5 separate regions of the Homo sapiens genome follow, and regions 2, 3, 4 and 5 are each linked to region 1. The links are contacts of gene promoters, found by promoter capture Hi-C in blood cells and fetal thymus (Javierre and others, 2016). All regions are on one chromosome and are shown on one strand. Each heading gives the region's core, a stretch centred on a gene start or on the middle of the fragment in contact. The rest is flanking DNA. Distances are from core to core; before and after follow the strand shown.

Region 1 (5,026 bases), core at 641-3,140:
GATAGATGGCATGACAAAGTTTGGAAATCACTTCTTTAAGCATCCACATACTCCTTAGGCTTAAAACAGTGCAAAAAGGTCCTAAAAGTCAAAATAAAATCAAATGGCAGGTTATGAATTCTGTGATATATGTTAAAAGTTTAATATCCATGATATTTGGTTATACTTCTTAAGCTGGTGACAACACTTAGAAAGTATTATTGTGGTGAATTAAATTCCACTGTCTTGTCATGGTGCTGTGATGGCAATTATGCAGTGTTTTTACCCTGTTAAGTCACCTGAACATAAACTAACAGGTACTAAAGAAATTAAAGCATTACATAAGCATACTCAAACAACAATATGGCTGGTCATACGAGAAATGCAATTATTTTGCTGACAAACTTATATGAGAAGTCTTACTGTTTCCCTAAGTTATTCACAGCACATCCCACTCACTCTTCACCAAAATATAATGAAGACTATTCCAGACATTCTCAGACTTGCTGGCTCTTTTGTTTCACTGAAAAGGTGAAGAAGTACAGAGATACCTGACAAGTATGGAAGTCTGATCTATTATTTGAACAAGAGATCTAAAATGAGAGAGTATCAATGTAATACATCAAGTGGTACAAAACTGTGGACTTCATAGTGAAACATTACAAAACTTCCTGCTTCCGGACAGCTCATTATTTGGTTCAAGGCTTCACATTCCTTTGTCATGGTCTTTCCGAAAGCTTTCATTCCTTATTAATATCAGACTTTTAATGTTACTAGTGGGACTTTCCAAATTAACAAGCCCCAAGTTCGTGCCCCAAGGAGGAGCTTCAGGACTACAATTTTCCCTCAGTAACCTGAGCAGAGTGTATGTCCCTCACGTAGTTGTTGTTGTTGTTGTTGTAAACATATTTCTTTCTGTATATCTTAAATTTGTGTTCAACTATATATTTTTATCACGTACAATTACAAGAACTTGCATTAGTTCTGCGGAAATTAGTGGAAAAACTGGGAGACCTGTGGGTATGTGTGAAATAGACACGAAACGGAGCTTCGCTGCCAATTGTCACTGGGGTCTCACACGGCCCAGATCTGGCCTCTGAGCCATGTCACTGGGTGCAAAGGCACAGACAACCACAGGGTAACTGGGCGAGAAAACAAGGAGGCTCCCTGTCAATACACGTACTTCCACCCTGAAGAGGAAGGGTGGCCCGCAGGGCAGACCCTAATGAAAACCCGTGCCTACTGGGATCGTCACATCGCCCGGGCCTGTAGGGCCTGCTAAAGGGGTGTGTGGAGGAGGAAGGACAGCGTCCGTCCCCACTTCGGAGACCCAAACAAATGAAAATAAGCCAAGTTCTCACTTCCTGGTTGCCTACTCTTTCGGAAGGCCCCCGACACCAGACGGACACAGGGGAAACGGGGCTCCCGTGGAGTAACGGGGCCCACCCCAGCCCGCACCTCCCGCCCTCGCCCTCCTCCGGGCCTTACACGGTGACGTGACCGGAGCCGCGGACGACCACCGGGTCCGGCGAGTACTTGAGCAGCTGCTCCTCCAGGGCCCGCTCCTCGTCCTCCTCTTCCTCATAGATTTCGTCGAAATCCGCCATCCTGAGCCTCCGAGCTCCCCTGCCCAAAGGGCCTGACTCCCGGGGTTGGCGCCGGGGTACCGGCGGGCGAGGCGGCGGAGGCTGAGGGGAGTCGCCGCTGCCGCCGGCTCCGAGGCCGCGGAGTTCGCTGTCGGCTGTCTCGGCTCCGGCTACAGAGGGGATGGGGTCTGGACCGTCGCCGCCACCGCCGCCGCCATTACCATCAGCAATAACAACAACACAATGTCAACATCCGCCCAGAGGCCGACACCTCCACAAGCACAGACGCCGCTGCCGCCGCCGCAGCAGCAGCAACTCAGGAAACCACAGCAACAGCCCGAGCCACCCGCAGCGGGAGCAGCCGGCTACGGCATCGCGAGACTTCCCGGGCCAACGGGCGGGCGGGCGCGTGCGTGGGCGCGTGGGCGAGCGGACTGGCTGGCGGGCGGGCGGGCGCGCGCACGTGCGGCCTCGCGCGCTCCCAGGCCACCGTCTTTCCTCTGCTTCTACCCGCAGACGGCGACCGGGGCGCGCGCTCCCGCCGGCGGGCCCCCCTCCGCCGACTTCTGGGTGGCGGACCCTGGGGGCGGCGGCTCCGCTGACTGGAGGCCGCGACCCGCGACTCCGACAACGCAGCTTGGAATGTCCAGTGGGACATGCAGTTCCCCAAAGTCATCTCTAACCAAAACAAACAACTGAAAAGAAAAGCCCTGGCTGGAATAGACACATTTTTGTGCGTGTCATTGCCAGTTTATCTAATAATCGCATCTCGCTTTTCCTCAGGTTTTGAGTCTATGATGAGAACCAGAGTCTCTTTTTTCCCAATTTGAGGAGTCCAGCAGAGACACTGCAAACATTTGTGCTCACCACAGGATTTTTCAAGACATCTCCAAATTCAAACATCTTATCCCTTGATCCCCTTAAGTATAATCCAATATATGAGGCCAGCGATGCTGGTATTTTTTTTTTTTTCTTACAAGAAATCTCACCGTAGTCATGCTATGAAAAAAAACTGATAAATTACCTGGATTCCATATTAGAAGATGCAGTTTCTTGCCCCAACTCTCTCACCAAACATAACCTGGTTTTTGTTGTTGTTTCCTTAAAATCTTAGGGAATTCCTTTCCTTTTCTTACCAGTTCCTACCACAAAAAAGACCTGAAAGAAAGGGCAGAGGAGAGGAAGAAAAGGAGGCAGGAAGGAAGAAAGGATAGAAGGAAGGACGAGAAGAATGAAAGAAGAATGGGAGAGAAAGAAAGAAGGGGAGGAAGGAAGGAAAAGGTTTAATGGAGTCTACTTAGCTGCCTAGTAACAGTTGAACGGTCACTTTGGGTACTTGGTTTCATTAAGCATATAAACAGCACAGGGGAAGGAGTGGGCTTCTGAGAAGAGAGTCCTGGACAGTGAGGATACACCATGGGAGAAGAAAGGATAGTTCTACTGAGCCCAGCGCTGGTCAGGCTCTTCAAGTGCAGTGTTCATGTCACAGTAGTCGGCTTTAGATGGGTCACTGTTGACGTGGAGAAAGTGCAAAGGAGGTCAATGAGGACAGTGAGAGATGCCAACCTCCTTTTGGAAACAACTGAAGGAAATGAGTGTGGTTAGCCAAGAAAAAATGAAGGAAAAATACAGTAGTTGTATCAGACTTATTGTATCCCTCCCTGGAGGGTATTTGTTCATTCAACAAATATCTACTGAACTCTAGCTATGTGGCAGGCACTGTGGACGTGTGTGAATGAGGCACAGGCCCTGACTTCTGGTAGCTTATCTATTGTTAAGGCAAGCAATTGTCATCTCTGCCAGGGGCTCATGGAGGAGGACACAGGAAGTGTCAGTGGGGCACACAGGAGGCAGCTTGGTCTGGTGTTTAACAATGTGTGTTCTGGAACCTGACTACCTGGCCTTGAATGTCAGCTCTGCCACTTACTGTGTGACCCTAGACAAGCCACTTAACTTCCCTGTTCAGTACCTGCCCCATTGGGATGCTCAGCAGATTCAAGGGCTTAAGATCGGTGAAGTGCCTAGAAGAAGGCCCAGTACACAATAAATACGGGGTAATAGGTGATGCTTAAGGCTCCCTAGCTTATCAACCCTGTGAGGGTTACCACAGCATTATGTAATATTTTACTGCTTATAAAGCACGTACATAATATATCATTTAATATTCCCCCAAGAACCTGTGAGGTAAGCAAAGAGGGTGTATTTATTTTCAGATATGCTATGTTTCAGAGATGCTATGATATGCTATATTTCAGAGATGCTATGTGGCTTTCTCAAGGCCATGTGACGATTTAAGATTTAATGGTCTAATTGAGTATACTGGTGGTCCAAGCTTTCCTGAATGTCTTTTTTTTTTTTTTTTTTAAGACAGAGTCTCACTCTCTCACCTAGGCTGGTGTGCAGTGGCACCATCATAGCTCACTGCAGCCTTGAACTCCTCAGCTCAAGCGATCCTCCCTCCTCAGCCTCTGAATTTCCTCCTTGGCAGGAACCAGGAGACTAGTGGCTGCACTCAGTTAAAGGAACAGCTGCAAATGGGAAGATAAGAAAGAGAATAAGAGGAAATAAGGTCAGTATGTCCTGGCACAGCCCACACCTGGCTGTGGCTGAGAATTCACCCTTATGTAGAAACAGTGGCCAAGATAAGGGGCTAGTGCCCCAAAGTATCTAAATCATCACATAGCTGACAACTTCCCAAAGACGGAGGAAGCCACACAGAGCTCCTTAGAACTCCAGCACCTTCCACAGTTCCTGCTTCAGAAAAGGAGCTTAATAAATGTTATCTGAATTGAGATACAGTGTTACTAGTGCTCTTTCCAGAACACTGTGACTTAATTAGGCTTCAGAGGACTGTGAGAACCTCACTCTTATCTTCACACTGGCTGGATGTGGGAGAAATGTTCTTATTCTAAGATCTATTCAACAGAGAGATCTTTGTAACTCCCACGGCCTGGGTATACGGTAGAGGCAGGGAATTGCCTTTTCTTTTTCTTTTTTCCTTTCTGTGTGTGTGTGTCTGTGTGTGTGTGTGTGTGTGTGTGTGTTTTCTTCTTTTTCCTGTTCTGAAAAACCTGTCAGAGCCAGCAAAAGGGTGTGGGACCTAGGAAGAAGGCCAAAGGGGTGAGCGAACATGAGTCAAACATTTTCCTGATGAGAGTTGACATCGTAATTCCAACCCTCCACCTCCGCCCTGCCAACCTTCCAAGATCCAGTTTCCTGTAAAACTCCTCCCCCAATTTCTTCCTGGAGATAAGCCACTTTTCCAGGATCCTCTCCCTCTGTGTCCAGGTACTCACTTGCACCCTGCTAAGTGCCCATCCCTCCATAGCCTCCTCTTCATTGGAGTTTCTCTTTATATTCTTGCCTCACATATTTTCATATTTACCTTTAGACCAAATGGCTCAAAACCAAACTGGATAATGTCAGGCCTCAGGAGTCAGCAAGACTTGTTTTTAAGGCAA
Region 2 (5,026 bases), core at 1,595-4,094, 960 kb before region 1:
AAGGAATATCTAAGGCTGGGTAATTTATCAAGAAAAGAGGTTTATTTTGCTCAAGGTTCTGCAGGTTGTACAAGACGCATGGCGCCAGCATCTGCTTGGCTTCTGGTGAGGGCCTCATGCTGCTTCCATTCATGGTGGAAGGTGAAGGGGAGCCAGCATGTGCAGAGATCACATTGTGAGAGAGGAAGCAAGAGAGTCTGAGGAGAGGTGTCAGCCTGTTTTTAACAAGCAGCTCTAGAAGGAACTATTAGAGCAAGTACTTACTCCCCCTACCCACTTAGGGAGGGCATTAGTCTTATTCATGAGGTATCTGTCCCCATGCCTCAAACAAACACCTCCCATTAGGGACTACCTCCAACACCGGGGATCAAATTTCAACATGAGGTTTGGAGGGGTCAAACATCCAAACCATAGCAGAGGATTTTTGTCCTTAATTTTTTAAAAAATTATTTATGGGTAAGAGGTATGTGAAAGTTTATAAAATACTGGAAAAGACACTGAATTGAACCTCATTCTAGTTCAGTGGACAAGGAAAATATGAACAAAAAACTAATTTGGAAGTCTCATAAATACCAATAAATAATGGTATAAGCAAACTAAAAGGAAATCAGAATGGACATCAGGAAACTGATGAAGAAAACAATAATAATAATAGCAATCTGTTGCTTGTCATGTTAGTAATCTTAGCCTTCACTTCTTCTAATTGTTACTCATGTGGTAGTTAAGAGCTCAGGAATTAAATTGCCAACATTTACTACCTGGTTGAACTTGGGCAAGTTATTTAATTTGCCTCAGTTCTCTCATCTGTTCAATGTAGGATAATAATAGCAACTACTTACTAGGGCTTCTAAGAAGAATAAATACCTTGTTTATAATAGTGTCTGGCACCTAGTGATGGTCCTGAAGTCAATAATCAGAAGTACCATCATAGTTATGAAATACTAAATAAATTATACAAACAAAAAATAAATGTGTACACATGCATGTGTGCATATGTGAATGAATGGATAGAAATGGTTTCATAACGTGATTATTTAATTAGCCATAAGAACCACTTCCTATCCACGCTAGATAGCAAAATTACATTACCTTTGTTAAATTAGGTGTTGAAAGGTCATTAGTTCTATATTACAAATTCTTATTATTAAAAAGTTGCTTTTATAACTATTCCAACAAAGCGTACTGTAAGAATAAAATCTGGAGCAGGAAAGAATGAACAGACACATAAGGCTCCCTATGGAATCAGCCCAAACCCAGTAAGTGTTCAAGATTACAGAAACTGAATTTCTGGCTTTACTTCAGCATTATTCTGGGTCCCAAAAATTTGCTTTCTTTTTAAGTATTTTTCAGTATCTCTTTTTTAGTGAATGTAGGATATAACCAACGTTAGAAGTAAATTGTAAAAAATGGTTTGCAAGTTTTCATTAAAATCTCATGACTATGCAAATACTCAGAATTTTTGCATAAATAATCACCACGACCCCCAAATGATGTTTTCGAATGAATCATGCAAACCCACAGTTGAGAGATTAAGTATAAAAAAAGACAGATATCCACCTCTGGCACAACTTCAAATGCGTCGATGGAGACAGAAAAATGTCAAACACAAAGATTACATGAAGCACTGCAGCTTCCATGGACAGGGAAGAAACTACCAATACTTTCTGTATGGTAAAATACTTAAACACACTTCAGCTTTCATGCATTATAAAGAGGATTGACTTGTAGAAACTCAGGACCAGTGGCTTTATGGATCTGCAACAGGGACCCCTATGCTGTATATGAACCTAGTCAAAGAGCTGCACTTCCAAATGCTGACATACTGCTAAGGAGATTGGGGCTTCTCTCTGGTCCTGTTCCTCTCTTTGACTCTTTGACTCTCTTTGATTCAAAGAGCAACTCAGAGTTTTCAGAATGATATTCTAATTTGATAGTAGTTGATCTTTTAAATTCTAGATAGTGAAGGGTTCCAGTAGATTCTAGTTAACAGTAATGTGTGAAGTTTAAAATGTATCTGCTGATAGAGAGGAAATTACTCATGGAAGAAATATCTCTGATGCATAACACACAGTCTGGCTGTACTGAGATAGTTGTTTCAAATGGAAAAGAATGCAGTTGGTAGTGCTTTTAATCAGAACTTTAAGAACCACTGGGTGACTTAAAAGATATAATGGTAGAGAAAAACCTCATTTGCAACAACAATGGAAAAAAGAGATAATACTTGGAAATAAACTCCAAATGTTTCAAACCTATAGGACCAACACTTTAATAAAACACTCTGCAAAACACAAATGTAGACTTGAACAAATGGAAAGACATTCCTGGTTCTTGATTAGGATGTCTCAATGTCATCAAAAGATGTTTGTACTCACTAAGTCAATTTATAAATTTTGTGACATCCCAATTAAAAAAAAACCAATAAGCTTTTTCTCCCCTGGGAAATAAACAAATGAACTTTACTACACATGAATTTTCACATGAAACAATAGCCAAAAGAGAATATCAAGAAAAACAATGAAAAGAAAGAGTTGTGAGGAGATAACAGCCACATCAGATATTAAAACCTACCACAAAATCTGTATAAGTAAAACGGTGTGGTCCTGGAACATGAATGCACATGCAAATCAATGAAGCAGAACAGCAAGTCCAGCAAAAGACCTGACCACAGGTGGAAATTATTCTAGTATATGATACAGGTGCAACTCAAAATGCTGGGGCAGCAAAGAACATTTTAATAAGTGCTGTTGGGACAATTGGAAAGCCATTTCCAAAAGATAAATTTTCATCCATTCCTCATGTCATCCAGTAAGCACAAACTTCAAATAGATCAGATTTTTAATAAGTAAAAGTATACAAGTAATTTTTGATGGATAAATTCCTCTATAATTCCTCTATAATCTGAGGGTAGAAAAGGCCTTCTGTGACTAAAAATCCAGATGCAGTTTTTAAAAATTGACATATTTGACTAAAAAAAATTGAATGGCAAAAACACCATAAGCAAAATGATAGGACAAATAAATTAGAAGAAAATATTTGCAAATAATATAAAGAACTAATATTCATAATTTATAAAGAACTTTTAAAAGTTGATGAAAGGAGATCAAAAGTACTCTAGAAAATGGGCAAAAGACAGGAATAGAAAATACACAAAAAAGATATAAAATTACATTAAAATATGAAAATATGTTCAATTTTACATAAAAGGAAAATTCATATTAAAATTATATTGAAAACAATTTCTCATCCATCAGTTTGACAAAAAAACAAAAGCTTGTTGGTGAGGCTGAAGAAAAACAGGCCCATTTTTATACATGATTTTCAGGAAGGCAAAAGGGTGTAAATCTTATGTAGGGGAATTTCACAATGTCTAACAAAAATATAGGAACCAGCTTGCAGGAGCTCTTACTTGACAAATGTAAAACAATAAGGTACCCAAATTCATTCATTACAACTCATTGAATTAAGAATCCATGAGTCTATACTTATAATAAATAAATACATACATACATAGGCAGACAGCTGGAGAGAAGGAAAGGCTCTTCCTTCTGGTAGAATGTCAACTGATGAGTGCAGGGTGTAATGGAATTGAAAATCACCCTTTACAACCATCACTGTAAGATTGTGGGAAGAATCAATGGGGAAAAGTTTGATGAGAAGCAGGATGTTTGTATGGTCTCAAAGAAAATGACCACACATTGCTTATTTCTTGCAAGGGAGAACATAATAAATATAAATCAATGTCTTGACTGGGTGATCAAAATTAACATAACTGAAGGGAGATGATTAGCAAAGGGCTCTGGATATAACACCCCAAGAAGGCTACATTACTTAGTATTGTGGGTGAGTAGGGGTTGGGAGTCTGAACTGAATCTAAACAAATAAATGGATGGAGAATTATGGGAGCCAAGTTTTTCACTGTTGGTGTGGAAGTGTGCAGATGAACAAGGACATAAGGCTATAATCCATCTATTCACACAGAATGCTCCACCTGGTAATGGATTACAGCTGAAGACATTAGTATAAACAAATGTTTAGCTTAATCTGGATATAGAATGTTTCATAAAAATATTTATAGATATCTATATTTTCATGGTTTTTATATATATTATATATAAATATATATATAATTTTCTTGCTCTGTCAACTAAGAGGATGTAGAAGAACAATGACATTCCAGTAGCAATGAGCATATCTAGTACCAGATCTTGATTTTCAATATCCTCCAGTGAAAGGAAGCAGGGTTCCCTGAAGAAATAGCTGATTCTAGGACAAAGGCAGGAAATATACATGAGTCTGGGTCTTGTAGTTCCAGAAAGTAAGGAAGTAAAAAAAAAAAAAAAAAAAAAAGGCATGGGGTAGGGGATGGGAGAAAAGAAAAAAAAATGCCGTAAGGGTTGACAACACAGATGCCACTGAAAGAGCTCCCAATGGCCAAAGCTGGAACAATATGAGCTAAAAAAAAAAAAAAAAAAAGAAAATGACGTATTGGAGTATAACCCAAAATACAAAATAAATATGTATCAGTCCATACTGATATAAATAAATAATTGATTAAGTAAATAAAGGGAGAAGAGAAAACTATCTTGTGCAGAAGAATTCCTAATAATTATGCTGAGGTTTTATAGATGTTATGTATGTATATTGCCTTCAAGGAGGTGGAGCATAACTCCTTATTTATTAAGTGTGGGCTACTTCCTAAAGAGTTGAGTATGAAAGCAGGAGTAGTGGGGGAAGAGTAATTGTACAGTAGAGAAAACTGAAAAATGCTTCTTCAGCCAGGTGATAAAGGTCAACATCATGTCAATGGTATATACTCTTGATACGATGTAATGAAAATGACACTTTACCTCTGCAGTCTTTCTCCCCAAAATTTATATCACCAATCTAATAATGAGAAAAACATCAGACTCATCCCAGCTAAGAGCATACAAAATGCTAAATAGTGTTCCTCAATACTGTCATGGTCACCAAAAATAAAGAAAGTCTAAGAAACTGCCATAACCAAGAGAAGCCAAAGGTGACGTGA
Region 3 (5,026 bases), core at 771-3,270, 880 kb before region 1:
TTAAATTTATGATAAGTAAACTGTATAGCAACCATAATCACAAAACACCTTATCTCATGCCCTTAGGTTGTAGTAAACCATGGCAATTTTAATCGAAAATAATACTTGGCACCAGGAAACCAAGAATGGCACCCTTGAAAATGCTGCTCTGAATAGGAAACTAACATTTTAGATATATTACAGAAGTAAGTAACTCTTAGCTGCTTTGAATTATAATAATAATTATAACGCATTTATTTCATTTCAAGTGGCACTCCATTATGCTATATAGTGCTGCTCTTAAAATTCTATTGTAGACTCCAAGCTTCCTGCTTCCTAGTCTCTCATGTTGACTGTTGTTCCCTGGCAGGGTCCTACCAGCAACCAAGAGAAACCTGCAAGTCCCCAAAACAGCAAAAGTATCAAATATAATTTTTTAAAACTCTTTTTATTATCTAAATTAAGCTGGAATTACTCTATTAAGTTACCAAGAGTAATAAAAGGCATACCCATAACATATATATCACTGTTTGAAGATATTTAAATTTAACTGTGATTACAATCTTTAACTAAGGCTCTCAGACTCTCTTAAACCTCTTTCTAAGGTTAATTAGTAGCCAATGAACAATTTTCAAAATAAAAGCATAATATATAAAAGTTAATAAAACTGGCTCCAAGTTAATTAAATTTATTTTCCTTCAGAAATATCCTGCCCTCCTTGAGATGCAACATGGATAACTTTGTGAAAACAGTGAAATGTACAATTCAGCAACTACTAACACAAAAAAATCAAAGGGATATTCTGCTTCGTAAGTAAAAATCTACAGGGTAGGCCTTATTCTACAGTCAGCACTTTTCTAACTTTTGTTCAAGTTGTGATCATGAAAACAGTGCTTAACATTGACTTAGGTCTTGACTGCATGCCAGGTAGTGTCTCACACGCTTCACATGTATGAACTCACTTGATCTTTATGACAGTCCTATAAGATGGTGCTATTATTATCCCAGTTTTAGAGTCTGAGTCTTTCCCACCCTTCAAGATCTGGTTTAAATTTCACTTCCTCACAAATCCTTCCTTAATTATTTCCCAATTCATATTATATTCTACCTCCCCCTTTTCCCACTATATTATGTGTATCTCTTACGGGACTTACCATAGTTCCCCCTAAAGCTCTTTATGAATGCTTCTCTTTCTTGTCATTACATCACAAGTTTCTGGGGAGGCAGACTCTGTCTTACTCACTTTTGTATTCCTACAATGCTTGGCAGAGATTCTTGCACGAAGAACATGTCCAGAAAATGTTTGTTGAACTTACTTATACTAGCATTAATATGGGAAAAAAGGAAGAAAGGAATTTAGCAGCAGCTCTAAAAACAAAGAAAGAGTCATGAATAAAAAGCAACAAGCAGTTATTCTGTTTCTGCAGATGACAGAACAAAAGAGATCCCAGAGATCATGAGATAAAACATTTAAATATTAGGTAAACATTAAACCATAATTATACTGAAAGAAAATACAGGTGAATGGTTACAAAATCTTTAGAGGTAGAAGGCCTAAATAGGACACCAAGAGCAAAATCAAGCAAGAGAAGAATTAAATAAATGTTCAAGGGAGCCAGCTCTGAGTTAGGCTACATGGTTTTGATTCCCAATTTGCTGTTTGTAGAGTCAGTTTATTCAACCGTAAAATGGGGATGATGACAATATCTGACTTACACGGTTGCACAGTGGAATGAAGGAGATAATGACTATCAGGCTCTCAACACAACGCATGACATAATGTCTTCCATAAACATTTCAAAACAAACCAATTAAGGAAAAGATAGAGTTGACTGTAAAAAGAAAAAAGCATTTATGCTATAAAAGTATCAATCAAGTCAATCAGTATCAAATGACAAACAGAAAAAAAAATTACTGTCATAAATACATGAAAAGCTTGTACAAATTAATAAGATTAAAACTCCAGTAGAAAAGAAAGGAAAGCCGAGCTCAGCATTTCACAAAACATTAATATATACAAATGAGAAAAACATGAGAAAACACACCTTATTTAAGAAATTAGAAAGTATTCATTAAATTTTTCTTCTTATTAAATCAGCAATATTGACAATGCTGTGAAGCAATGGACAGCATAGAGAGTCTTGTGGAAAGCTTAAATTGGCATATTTCTGAGGGCACTTTGCCAATAACCATCAAAAGCCTTAAAATGTGCATACCTTCCTAAAAATGCATAATTATTATACATCCATAAAAATCTAAAAAAAGAAAAAAGTACATATGTTATGACCTAGGAAATTGAGGCATTTATACCAAGGAAATAATCACTGATATGCACAAAGATGTAAACTGCAGCCTTGTTTATAAGAGTGAAAAACTAGACATAACCTAGTGATCTAACAATGAGACTAGTTAGTAAACTAAATACCTTTACAAAACTGACTGCTGTGATCTTGTGGGAGATACTTAATGCCATAAATGAAACAAATATGATATAACAGCTTATTATATGGTCCCATTTTCATTAAAACAACAACAATAACAAAATGTGTGTAGGTATGAGTGTGTGTATATACACACACAAGAAAGATCTGAAAGGAAAGATATCAAAATGCTAACACTGATTATCTCCAGGTAATAAAATTATAGATGACTTTGGAAAACCATAACATTTTCTAAATTCTTTATGATAAACATATCTTCATAATTAACAAAATAAAAATTATCTTTCCAAAAGGAAAAATTAAACATCAAGAGATATTCTTGCCCATTGTTCAGGTAGAATATATCTTTAATTGTGGCTGCACTGTGCTCCTTATAAAAGTCATACAGTAATGAGCTTCAGCCCACAGGTTCTATTGGTACAGAAACAGCTCAAGCAGTTTAGCAGAAAAATTCAATCAAATACAAAAAACAACTCAAGGGAACATCCTATGCTTAATGGTTAAATGGCAATAGAAAAAAAGACAAATAACTAAGCAGTACTGGATAAAGCTAAAACCTTAATCTCATGCTTACTCAGCAGCAAAAAGAAAAAGCAAAGCAAACATTAATTATGGAAGATTTAGTGATCTGTATGGTTATAGTTGTAGAAACACTTCCAATCTGTGTTTACCCACGCTGTAACTCATTGCTTTCTGCAAATTTAAAGAAACCTTTTGCCTGACAGTTCAAATGCTTGGTTACAGCTAAGGGAACAATAGTTCAACCACTTTGAAAATAGGCTAGAGGACAAAGTCCTCACACTTCAAAACTGGTGTGTGTGTGTGTGTGTGTGTGTGTGTGTGTGTGTGTGTGTGTGTTTAGTGGCTTTCCAACTTCATAATAAATCTACGAAAGGGCCAACTTCATAAGGGAGCCAGTCTGAATACAAATATATTTAGCCCCATCCTCCCTACATGGCAAGGAAGGAGCAGGCACATCACTATGTAACTAGATTGCACGTTCATTCATTCTTAACGACTGTTACCAAAGATTCCCAAAGTAAACAGTAGTGAAAGCCATGGTATTACAGTATTGAAAGCAATCTATTAACTCATGCCTTTTCAAAACCAATGAGAGAATAGACCTAGTTGAAAATTCTTAATTCCATCTAGTAAGATAAATCTTGAACACAAAATGCTAGAAAAAAGGGCGGGGAGGTCTAAGTACATAACTGTTTAAATTGTCTATCCAGTCTATCCCAAATGCAGTGCTCACTTGTTTTTTTCCTGCCCAGCATCCATTGCCCCTTCTCTGAATAATAGCACCCAGTTTTTATTTAGGGGACTCTCCCATTTTGGTTCATATGATCACCTCCATTTCCAAACTTCAGGAACTGACAGGTAACTCAGGAATGCTCATGCAATGTATTCATTCCCCTAGACAGAATAAATATTCATCAAGCACATAGCCCAAGCTAGTCCCACTGGTGACAAGAATTATCAGCCTTAAAACTTTTCTCTAAGCTCCTGGGAAAGAAGCACGTTCCTTTTGCTGGAGTTTCATGCTGAAAGAATGTAAGCTATTGCTGTTGGGCACAGCTTTGCCATCACTTGGAAAGAGGATATCTAAAAACAAAACAGTAAAAAAGTGAGTAGGATTAAAAAACAAAGAAAAACAGATTCCTGATAAACTATTTTTAAAAGCTGGATCCAAACATGCCTGAAGCTATTCATCACCATCTGATTTAGATTCTGTCACATGAGACTAAAAGGAGACAATAAATATGGGGGAAAGGAAAGTTAGATGGTTGTCCCTTCCCTCCCCAGTTGATCTACCTGTCTTGGTCAGCATGGGTTACTATAACAAAATATCATGGACTGGGTAGCTTAAACAAGACATTTCTTAGCTTGCAAACTTCGCTTCCTTCTTGGCTGTATCCTTGCATGGCGGGGCCTGAGAGAGCAGTAAGGGAGGAATTCTCTAATTTCTTCTTATAAGGGTACTAATCCCATTATAAGGACCCCACCCTCATGACCTCATCTAAACTTAATTACCTCTCAAAGGCCCCACCTCCAAATACCATCACATTGGAGCTTAGGGCTTCAACATAGGGATTTGGAAGAGACACAAACATTCAGTGCATAGCACTACCTAAATTGCTTTTAGACACACACAAAATAGACTGGAGGAGGTTACTCTATGCTACCTCCAAGCAGATCTGTGTGACTGTCATTGTACTAGAATACATCACCAGAATATTGGCTACATCCTTAAGTGTATATCACTGCTTACTCCAAAGCCTAACCCAGTGCCTAGAACACAACATCACCCAATAAATTTTTGCTGAAAAATGAATACGTGAATTAACTAATCTTTTGGGACTTATTTTCAATACAAACTAAACAATAACATGAATGCTATAATAAAGATATCAGTAACATGATATGAAAATACACAGAAAGGTCTAACTCTATATTGGAAACCAGATAATCTGGAGTCACATTCCAATATTTAACTGATCTGAATCCCTCCTGAAACAGTCAATGTATCTCCTCATCTTCTCCTTAGCCTTATCTTCAACAGGCACAAAATACTTTAATAATGAAAAATAATCCCCAATCACTGG
Region 4 (5,026 bases), core at 1,660-4,159, 710 kb before region 1:
AGTAGCTGGGATTACAGGCATGCGCCACCATGCCTGGCTAATTTTTGTATTTTTTTTTTAAGTAAAGATGGGGTTTCACCATGTTAACCAGGCTGGTCTCAAACTCCTGACCTCAAGTGATCCACCAATCTGGGCCTCCCAAAGTGCTGGGATTACAGGTGTGATTTTTGAATGGCACTCAAAGCTCATAATCTATGATAACACTCACTCATAGTCTAATGAGAAGAAAAGGACAGCGAATGAAGGCAAAGACCATGGAGACAAAATATGTATACATGAACATAGCCTAAGTGAGAGGCAGAGCTGAGTCACAGCAGGGGCTCAGTTAGGAACGATTTTTATTTTAAACCCAAGAAAAGCCTTAGGAGTCATTTAGGCCAATGCCCTCATTTTATAAGATGAAATAATGAGGTGTAAAAAATGTGTCATGAAGACTTTGTCTGCAAGTGATAGAAAACAGCAACTAAATTTGGCTTAAACAACAGGAAATATATTCTCCCATACAACATGACGTCCAAACATCGTGCATCAAGGAGCTTATAGCTGCTCCTCTCTGCAGTTCTCTTGGCAAGGCCACCTTCCACGTGTTAGCATTAACTTCCAGATGTGAGCAAGATAGCTGCAGCAGTTATCAGACTCAATATGTCTGACATATTGGTCACATCTGGAAGAATATTTCTATTGAGTCTCTTGTCAGTAGCAAAGAAACCTGACCAAGAAGCCCTAAGACTTTCTCTCTTGTCACTTGCCCATTTCTAAAGCATCACTGCCAAGGGAAATGAGATTCCAAGATTGGCTTAGCCTTGGTCTAAGCTTGTAATAGAATCAGTGCTGGGGAGTCAAGGTTAAATAAAGTGACTATAATCAAAACATTACTTATAGGACTGAAATACTTTTATACCTATGTTTGTTCTACTACACTTCTAAAAATTTGCTTCTTTACCTCTGTCCAATGATGGGCTCTTCTTTCTTTTAGCAAACTCCTCTGGGGAGCTTACTTATTTTTTTGGTAATTACCTTAGGTTTCTGTGGAAGTGGCACAGGGTAATGGTAAACACTAATTTTAGAGCCAGGCTGCCTGGGTTCAAATATAGGCCTCCACCAAGTCTAACTGTATGCGTTACCTTAGGCATGTTATTTAACTTCCTTCGTCTTCTATAAACGGGGACGCTAAGAGAATCCACCTCATAGAGATATTGTGAGAAGTACGTAAGTTAATATGTATTAAGTGCTCAGAATGATGCCTGTTACACAAAAGGTCCTCTGTAAGTGTGTGCTATTACTAAGGGGCATCTACTATTTTTGCATGTCCAGCATCTGTTCCCCCATCTTCTGATAAGTGTTTCCATTTTCCTTTGAAGAACCACCCCTCCGCCATGCCATATGATATTAGCATAATTCTAGTCAGTATAAACAGCTCCCAACCCACACTGGGCAAAAGGTGGGCACAATGGCCAAGAAAAGTCAGTCTTACCATTTCCCCCAGAATCTGAATCTTAAGGAGAAGGACTCAAAGAAAACAGTTAAAATTCAGTCTCTCTAATGTCAATGCCTTAAACAGGTTTTTCCTGAGCCTCTGCTTCCTATATTCCTAGAACTATTTTGTCCTTTCAAAAATCTGATTAATAATCCTTCCTTTCATTCTTTTAGCTACCCAATACCCTTTAAAAACCCTTTATTGCTTAAATTAGCCAAAATTGATTTCCATTGTTTGTATAATCACTATGTTGAAAACATAGGACTCCCAAATTAACTCAAAGAGTAACTTTATTTTTGTCTGTCATCTCTTTAAATCTATTCAAGAGCCTAGCTCTTCTCTGGACCCTTCACATAGATAGCATAGAAGTTAAGACAGTGGCTCAAAAGTCAAACTTTTTCTTTTTTCCTGAAATGGAGTCTCATTCTGTTGCCCAGGCTGGAGTGCTATGGCACAATCTTGGCTCACTGCAACCTCCTCCTCCCAGGTTCAAGATACTCTCGTGCCTCAGCCTCCTGAGTAGCTGGGATTACAGGCACCTGCCACCATGCCCAGCTAATTTTTGTATTTTTAGTAGAGACAGGGTTTCACCACGTTGGCCATGTTGGTCTCAAACTCCTGACCTCAGGTGATCCACCAGCCTCAGCCTCCCAAAGTGCTGGGATTACAGGCATAAGCCATTGTACCTGGCCTAAAGTCAAACATTCTGGACTCATTTCTAGCTCTACCTCCCACGAACTCTGTTACTTAATGTCTCTTTGCCTCAGTTTCCTTACCAATAAAATAGGGGAATAACAACATCTACCTCATTAGGATACTGTAAAGCTTAATTTCCCAAACGTAAAATGCTTGGAAGTGTATCTAGCTCATCATAACTCCCAAAAAATGTGAACAGAGCAGATGACAGAAGTGGTCCAATGAGGTCATCTCTCACTGACGTCAGGCCCTGACCATTTTTTGTTTCTATACTTTGGTTCACATCAACCCCCTCCTCTTTTCTAAGTCATTCAAGACATAATTAAAGCAGTGCCACTTCCTCAAGGTCTACATTGATCTACAAAGACTACATTAACCTGATACTTGTAGAAATTATACTCCATAGCAGATACATTAATCTTAACTTCATATCATTTCTATTCTTTTCAAATTATGCTTGGGTATAAATCATGACTCCCCAACAAAAAGAGTGTTTGAATAATAATATATTATTTTATGTCGTTCCTGTTAGTTAACCTAGAGTAAGGCTCACAGTTAAGTCCTTAATAATTAACTTCTGAATGGCTCTCTGAACAGTTAAATGTGTTTCCAATCACATTACTTCTGGGTTTGTAGAGCTGCAAGCCTTTAGGCCTATGCTTTTATTGTATGTGTAAACACACCAAATGGACAAAAGTCTAGAACTTCCCATTTTCTTCCCACATTGACCCACAAACATTGGGTATCCAATAAGTATTCTTAAATATCTACAAAAAGGCTAAAAACTTCAGGAGCTACATATACTAATTATATTAATAAATATGGGAGGAAATTCCAAATGCATCTGCTACAGTGAAGATTTAAAACTATAATACTGAAAGATCCTGTTTTATTTAAAAATATAAAACATGAAAATAAAAAACAGATACACTTACATACTTTTTTCCCTTCTAATACTTTTATTTTTTCAAACAAGAGTAATTCCCAAGAGAATTGTTAATGAAGGACAAAGTTGAGAAAGTGACTATCATATATTTTCATTGTCATTTCTGGAGAAATTCTTATTTTTTAAACTCTGCATAACAACGTACATAATCTTCTCTCTTTGATTCCTCTAAGCATGTGAAAAAAAATATACTTAGAAATAAAAACTTCTGTTGATATCCACAGGTATATCATCTAATATAAAAAGATGGCATGGTTTCATTGCTGTTTGAGTTGCTTTTTAGTGATGTGAAAAAGTCAACTGGGAAAAAGAAACTGAGGAAGACTAGACTCAATTCCATGTGAAACTATCTGTGAAATGGAGATACATAAACTGATTCACTTAACCAATCCTGGGAACAAGCTTATATTACATGTAAATGACAGTTCTATAAAATTCCATACTTTCTGGATTATTATGTTTAGTGGATGTGGTTATTTCAAAATTAAGAAAAAATGCTTTTTGCTAAATGCTACCCACTGTGAAATTTTCAACCAGACCAATTCTTCATTGCTTTTTTCCTATGGGAATACTCAGTCTAGGAGAAAAAGAAAGGGGAAGACAGAGAAAGATAAGATGACAAAAACTATATATCTTACCTGGATTGTGAAAGACAGCCTGGTGCAACCACATTATAATTTTCCTCCTCAGTATGGAGTGCAGTGAGCGCTATCATGTTAACCATCACATCATTTGTGTGGCCTGGGAGCTGGGGAAGTGCTGAAATGATCTTCTCTACTAAGTTGTCTCCATGATGTCCAACTGCTCCTGTTTAAGCAGACAAGATGATGTAAATTCATAAAATGGGAGGAAAAAGCAAGTTGGATAAATGTTTTATCACACACCTTCTATCAAAAATAACATACATTTTTAGTTTCTGTTCAACAAAACTCACATTTTGCCCTTCATACAGCTAATCACATTCACAATCACCTAGTCAACATGTACCTCACAGGTTGTAATTAAGGCTCCATGAGGGCAGAACTCATGTCTGCTGTGGCTAGTACTGTATCCCTAGCACCTAGCGTGTCTGGAATTGGTGAGTTCTTGGTCTTGCTGACTTCAAGAATGAAGCCGCAGACCCTCAACGGTGAGTGTTACAGTTCTTAAAGATGGTGTGTCCGGAGTTTGTTCCTTCTGATGTTCGGACATGTTCAGAGTTTCTTCCTTCTGGTGGGTTCGTGGTCTCGCTGGCTTCAGGAGTGAAGCTGCAGACCTTCGCGGTGAGTGTTACAGCTCTTAAGGCAGCGCGTCTGGAGTTGTTCGTTCCTCTCCTCTGGGGTTGTTCATCCCTCCCAGTGGGTTCGTGGTCTCACTGGCCTTAGGAGTGAAGCTGCAGACCTTCACCATGAGTGTTACAGCTCATAAAGGCATGCACGGACCCAAACAGTGAGTAGCAGCAATATTTATTGCAGAGAGCAAATGAACAAAGCTCCAACAGTGTGGTAAGGGACCCAACCAGGTTGCCACTGCTGTCTCGGGCAGCCTCCTTTTATTCCCTTATCTGACCCCACCCACATCCTGCTGAGTGGTCCGTTTTACAGAGAGCTAATTGGTCCATTTACAGAGAGCTGATTGGTCCATTTTGCAGAGAGCTGAGTGGTCCATTTTGACAGGGTGCTGATTGGTGCATTTACAAACCTTGAGCTAGACACAGAGTGCTGATTGGTGCATTTACAATCCTTTAGCTAGACACGAAAGTTTTCCAAGTCCCCACTAGATTAGCTAGACACAGAGCACTGATTGGTGCATTTACAAACCTTGAGCTAGACACAGGGTGCTGATTGGTGCATTTACAATCCTTCAGCTAGACACAACTTTCTTCAAGTCCCCACTAGATTAGCTAGACACAGAGCACTGATTGGTGC
Region 5 (5,026 bases), core at 712-3,211, 670 kb before region 1:
CAGCCTCCTGAGTAGCTGGGATTACAGGCGCCCACCCCCATGCCTGGCTAGTTTTTTCTATTTTTTAGTGGAGACGGGGTTTCATGGTGTTAGCCAGGATGGTCTTGATCTCCTGACCTCGTGATCCACCCGCCTCGGCCTCCCAAAGTGCTGGGATTACAGGCGTGAGCCGCCGTGCCCGGCCGTCTTACTGATATGTTTTTGTTCAGTGGGAGTTGGTCCTTCTTTGCCCATTCCCGTTTTCTTCTAACTTCCCTAGTAACAGAAAAGTCTCTTTTAATTAGTATATTTGATAATACTACTCATATATAAGAATCCATTATATAAAGAAGTAAAGAACTGTCTGTAACCCCGTATTACAGAAAATGTATACAAGGCTCATTTATACAAGTAAAAATGCAATGAATTATTCAAATAATTGTATACAAGTCTTAGGTGTTTTGGCCAAGATTACACAACTAGCAATTGACAAAACATTTGAATGTGGGTTGGTCCAACTTCAGATATTTTTTTCTTTATCACTGTGTATTATATTACATCTAAAAAGGTGCAGCTTAATATTTTTTCAAATATATACATTCATGTAACTACAGCCAGATCAAGATATGAAACATAATTGGCATCCTAGAAGTTTCTCTCATTTTGCCTCTTGGTCATTAACCACCCACCACCGGCAAACACTGTTCTGCTTTCATGCTAGACTTATTTTTGAATTTCTTGTCAATAAATTTCTGTTATGGACTGAGTACTCCATGAATAGTTGAAAAAGGATTTATTAACAATATCAAATGCAAGAAGAACTGAAAGGCCACTAGATTTGACAACAAGTTGGAGGAATTTTACTTATGCTTAAGAGTGCTGTATATTTAATAACTGGGAGGCAAGGAAATGAAGACAAGGGGTGTAAACTATTTTTCCCTTCTTAGCCTTATTTCTTGTGAAGTTTGTTACAGTAGAATGTTGAGTTATTGGCAAAAAGGTTTTTGAAATGGAAACAAGTCAGGCTTTTTTTTTTTACTGTTTTTGCCTTTTATTGAGCAAGTGACTTTAAAAATCAGTTTAAAATGTTTTTTAAAATATGTGTTAGCTGGGCACGGTGGCTCACTCTTGTAATCTCAGCATTTTGGGAAGCCAAGGTGGGAGGATTGCTTGAGCTCTGGAGTTCGAGACCAGCCTGGACAACATGGTATGAGATCTCATCTATACAAAATTTAAAAAATAAAGATAGAAATAAAATGTGTGTCACACTATCCATTTACTATGTGATTGTATAATTTGTTTGTACAAATGGAATATATTACTGTTTTGTTTAAGCTTTTCAGGATAATTTCTGTTTTTTTTTGTTTGTTTGTTTTTAGGAGTTATGGTACAGCACCTGTAAATCTTAACATCAAGACAGGGGGAAGAGTTTATGGAACTACAGGTAAAATTTGTATTTTCTGTTGCATCAATAGGGAAATAAGGCACATATCTTAAATAGGTCTTAATAGCTTTTTTTTTTAGTCGGGGACAGAGTCTGGCTCTGTCACTCAGGCTGGAGTACAGTGGCGCAATCTTAGTTCACTGCAACCTCCGTCTCCTGGGCTCAAACCATCCTCCCACTTCACCTTCTCAAGTAGCTGGGACTGCGGGCGTGCACCACCATGCTTGGCCAATTTTTGTATTTTTATGTAGAGACCAGGTCTCACCATGTTGTTCAGGCTGCTCTTGAACTTTCGAGCTTAAGTGATCTACCTGCCTTGGCCTCCCAGAGTGTTGGGATTCCATGTGTGAGCCACTGCGCCCGGCCAAGGTGATAATAGCTCTTTTTAAAGAGTAATTTTTGACCGTACATCACAGAGACTGGTAAAGTTTTTCTGGCAAGAGTCCAGTAGCACGTATTTTAGGCTCTGCTTTGTTTGGAACCCTTGCCAGGTTTTTTGCCAGGAATAGTAAAAAGATGTTTGTTTTCTGTTTGTGTGTGTATATGTGCCAGGAATAGTAAAAAGGTGTTTATATTTTCTGTTTGTCTATGGTATCGCCTGGCTTCTTGCAAGTATAGCTCCTTCATTTTGTAATTTTATAAAACAGGGACAAAAGTCAAAGGAGTAGACCTTGATGCACCTGGAAGCATTAATGGAGTTCCACTCTTAGAGGTAGATTTGGATTCTTTTGAAGATAAACCATGGCGTAAACCTGGTAAGATTATTGTGGATTATATTAATTTCAATATTTTCAGTGTGAAGTCATCAGAAAATTTTTTTGAACATCAATTTAGAATTTTATTTTTTCATTATAATTTTAATTGTCTTAAGCAAATGATGAGTAATAATGACTTGGGATTATTAAATCTTACTGGTGGCCTTGTATTACTTAAAATGTAGACTTATTGTTTATTATAATGGCGTTTGTAAAGGGAATAATTTGATCAAAAATGATATAGTCTTTTTGCCACCATAAATGATAGAGTGATAACTGATAGAACTCTAAATTTATATTTTTATAGTTTAGTATATTTTTGATGCTGCATAAAAATAGAGCTGAAATATTTGTACACTAAAGTTGTGTTTTATCTTTAGGTGCTGATCTTTCTGATTATTTTAATTATGGGTTTAATGAAGATACCTGGAAAGCTTACTGTGAAAAACAAAAGAGGATACGAATGGGACTTGAAGTTATACCAGTAACCTCTACTACAAATAAAATTACGGTAATTAATAAATACTCCGGAATACCCTTGGCTTGTCTACCGTCCCACTTTTACTCCCCAAATAAATCGCTTCCCTATAAAAGTGGTTAAATGCTATATGATAGTTTAAAAATTCCATTTTGTTTACCATGTTTGTTTTTCCCTTCCCTCCCTTTTAGAGTTTCGTATTTAATGATTATCTGATGTTCTTACTTTCAAATCACAGACTAGCCACAGCTAGTTTGTCTTTATATGGCCTATTAATTAAATATTATGTGGTATCTTAATGGGGAATATGTTATTTAACTTAGGCCGAAGACTGTACTATGGAAGTTACACCAGGTGCAGAGATCCAAGATGGCAGATTCAATCTTTTTAAGGTGAATTTTAGTAAATTATCCTTGGTTGCTCTCATTTTTTGTTCTTGAGTCTGCTCCCATGCCACTACTCAAGGGACAAGATTAAAGTGGAAATAGCTACCTTTTTTCCAAACCTTCAGCTTCCTGGTGACTTACAAATTTGCTGATTGTTGTTTTATCTCCACTTTTGCAAGCATGTGAATTTATAGCCTATTATACTAACAAATGCCGAGTAAAACTATTGTTTGCTATATGTTGTGATTTCATTTTGAGTCGTAATACATGTTTGTAGGATAGAAAAGTTAGTGGCAACAGATTATGCTCTCATTGTAGATAATACTCTAATCTTTATCAACAGAATTGGAAACTTTTTTGTTCTCTTTAAAAAAATGGTAAGGAAGGTGGCATACTGTTTATCTCTATGACACTTATAACACTGATATCATTGGTGTAATGCCCTGATAGCTCAAGATATCTTCAAAAATCTTAGGCATTCTCTGAGAGGCTTTAAGAACTCAACATAATGAGATACTGCCATTGATTTTAAAAATTTGTTCTTAAAAGGAGTAGGTTTATGTGAGAGACTTTGAGGTTGATACTACAACTTGTATAACAAGTCTGATTTCTGGCTTCTCCATTCCATGGTATGATCACAGACCCAGTCCAAAGAATAATACTATATTGTCATAGTTCTTTTATGGAAAACTGATTGTGTACTCTTTTTTCTTTACCTTAATAGTTGACTCTTATATTGAATGACACTGGGATGAAGATTGGGAGTGGCTTTTAGATTGGGTTGTATACTCAGGGAACTTTAGTGGACTGGAAAGAGACCACTGCTCCCCTTTTGGGTTTGCAGCCCTGTCCACCAGAATACTGCCTTATGCAGTGTGTGTGCTATGTCTGCAGATACAACCACTCTACTGTACACAGTTCTATATAGATAATTTTATTTTAATTTACATCCTACTTTGCGTAAGTATTTGGTTCTTCTTTTGCAAATATTTTGAAAGTATGTGATGATGTCTGTTGTGTTTTAAAGGGTCATCAGTTTTTTCTGGGTTATATTGTCTATATAGGCATTGAATATATTAAACTTGACTGCAATGGGTAGAAAAGTTGTCTTAATGAACTAGTTCATTAGCAGCAGTGCATTTTATTTTCTTTTAATAGAAATGAGAACTGCCATCATAAACTGTTAGCTTCTGTATACTTCATTTTTTGTAGTAGACTTAAAAAGAGAATAAAAAGAAACTCCTAGGGGTCAGTCTCATTGAAGGTAGCCGTTATGAATGTGTATTTTATATACATACTGTGTACTGAAAAATTTATTTTGAAGTTTCTTTTGGCTATGTGAGAGGAGGTCATAGAGTATTCCATTCTGATTGGATTCTGAATGAAAGATTTTAATTCGATGGGTACAGTCTTCATGGTTTTCTTGCCTTGATAGTGTGTTTAAATACTAATATGTTTGGTAGAAATACTGATTTGGGAATAGGGTGTGTATTAAGAATATGTGTGGCAAACATTTTTTCTTTATGTATATTGTGGTCCGTAGGAAATGGTGGAAATAGGGCCATGATGAGCAGGACATTGATTTTAAACTAACCTGCAAACATTTGTGTAGCCAATAGGAAGCTGTTTGAAAGTTCCTGAGCAGTAGAATGAAGTGGCAGATCTGGTATTTAGAAAAGGAACTGGCAGCAGGATGGGCTGTAGAATGAAAGGGGTGTGAAACAGATAGGGAGCTGTTGCCATACTATGGGACTAAAATGAACTAGGGCCTGAACTCACTTATGAGGATGAATGGGCAAAGGAGTGGATTTAAGAATTAAAATTTATTTTCATATCTGCTGCAAATAGAATTTTTTCATCCTTAAGTGTGAGACAGCCCATCAGCCTCTTTAAGATAACTTTATTTACTTTTCATTAAACAATTTGCAAACCCAGTAACAAGTAGAATAGTACACATGAACCCTTAGGTGCTTATCATACAGCT

What was found. The method cuts DNA at HindIII sites, captures the fragments that hold promoters and counts their contacts. A CHiCAGO score of 5 or more calls a contact.
Region 2: a contact is called between a fragment that was not itself captured here and the fragment with the promoter of CHIC2 in region 1, in 1 of 17 cell types (endothelial precursors). The highest score is 6.0, in endothelial precursors.
Region 3: a contact is called between a fragment that was not itself captured here and the fragment with the promoter of CHIC2 in region 1, in 1 of 17 cell types (total B cells). The highest score is 7.1, in total B cells.
Region 4: a fragment that was not itself captured here is called in contact with the fragment with the promoter of CHIC2 in region 1 in 2 of 17 cell types (total B cells and total CD4 T cells); the score reaches 6.0 in total B cells.
Region 5: a contact is called between a fragment that was not itself captured here and the fragment with the promoter of CHIC2 in region 1, in 1 of 17 cell types (total CD8 T cells). The highest score is 7.4, in total CD8 T cells.

The regions. Positions count from the first base shown.
Region 1 is chr4:54,062,715-54,067,740 of GRCh38, forward strand. CHIC2 (cysteine rich hydrophobic domain 2) reads right to left here and starts at 1,891. Exons shown (of 6, transcript NM_012110.4): 1 at 1,468-1,891. The coding sequence starts at 1,586. RefSeq lists enhancers at 1,299-1,799, 3,796-4,995 and silencers at 1,599-1,728, 1,959-2,198. The HindIII fragment of the contact is 3,181 bases long and covers 715-3,895 here.
Region 2 is chr4:53,099,444-53,104,469 of GRCh38, forward strand. All of the region lies in intron 5 of SCFD2 (sec1 family domain containing 2), which reads right to left. Among named protein-coding and RNA genes, the nearest start is that of SCFD2-AS1, 170 kb to the left of the region's middle. The HindIII fragment of the contact is 847 bases long and covers 2,422-3,268 here.
Region 3 is chr4:53,185,187-53,190,212 of GRCh38, forward strand. All of the region lies in intron 4 of SCFD2 (sec1 family domain containing 2), which reads right to left. Among named protein-coding and RNA genes, the nearest start is that of SCFD2, 180 kb to the right of the region's middle. The HindIII fragment of the contact is 216 bases long and covers 1,913-2,128 here.
Region 4 is chr4:53,348,841-53,353,866 of GRCh38, forward strand. SCFD2 (sec1 family domain containing 2) reads right to left here. Exons shown (of 9, transcript NM_152540.4): 2 at 3,758-3,926. Among named protein-coding and RNA genes, the nearest start is that of SCFD2, 15 kb to the right of the region's middle. The HindIII fragment of the contact is 1,219 bases long and covers 2,301-3,519 here.
Region 5 is chr4:53,388,451-53,393,476 of GRCh38, forward strand. FIP1L1 (factor interacting with PAPOLA and CPSF1) reads left to right here. Exons shown (of 18, transcript NM_030917.4): 6 at 1,359-1,423; 7 at 2,071-2,178; 8 at 2,559-2,689; 9 at 2,980-3,048. Among named protein-coding and RNA genes, the nearest start is that of FIP1L1, 13 kb to the left of the region's middle. The HindIII fragment of the contact is 1,298 bases long and covers 1,313-2,610 here.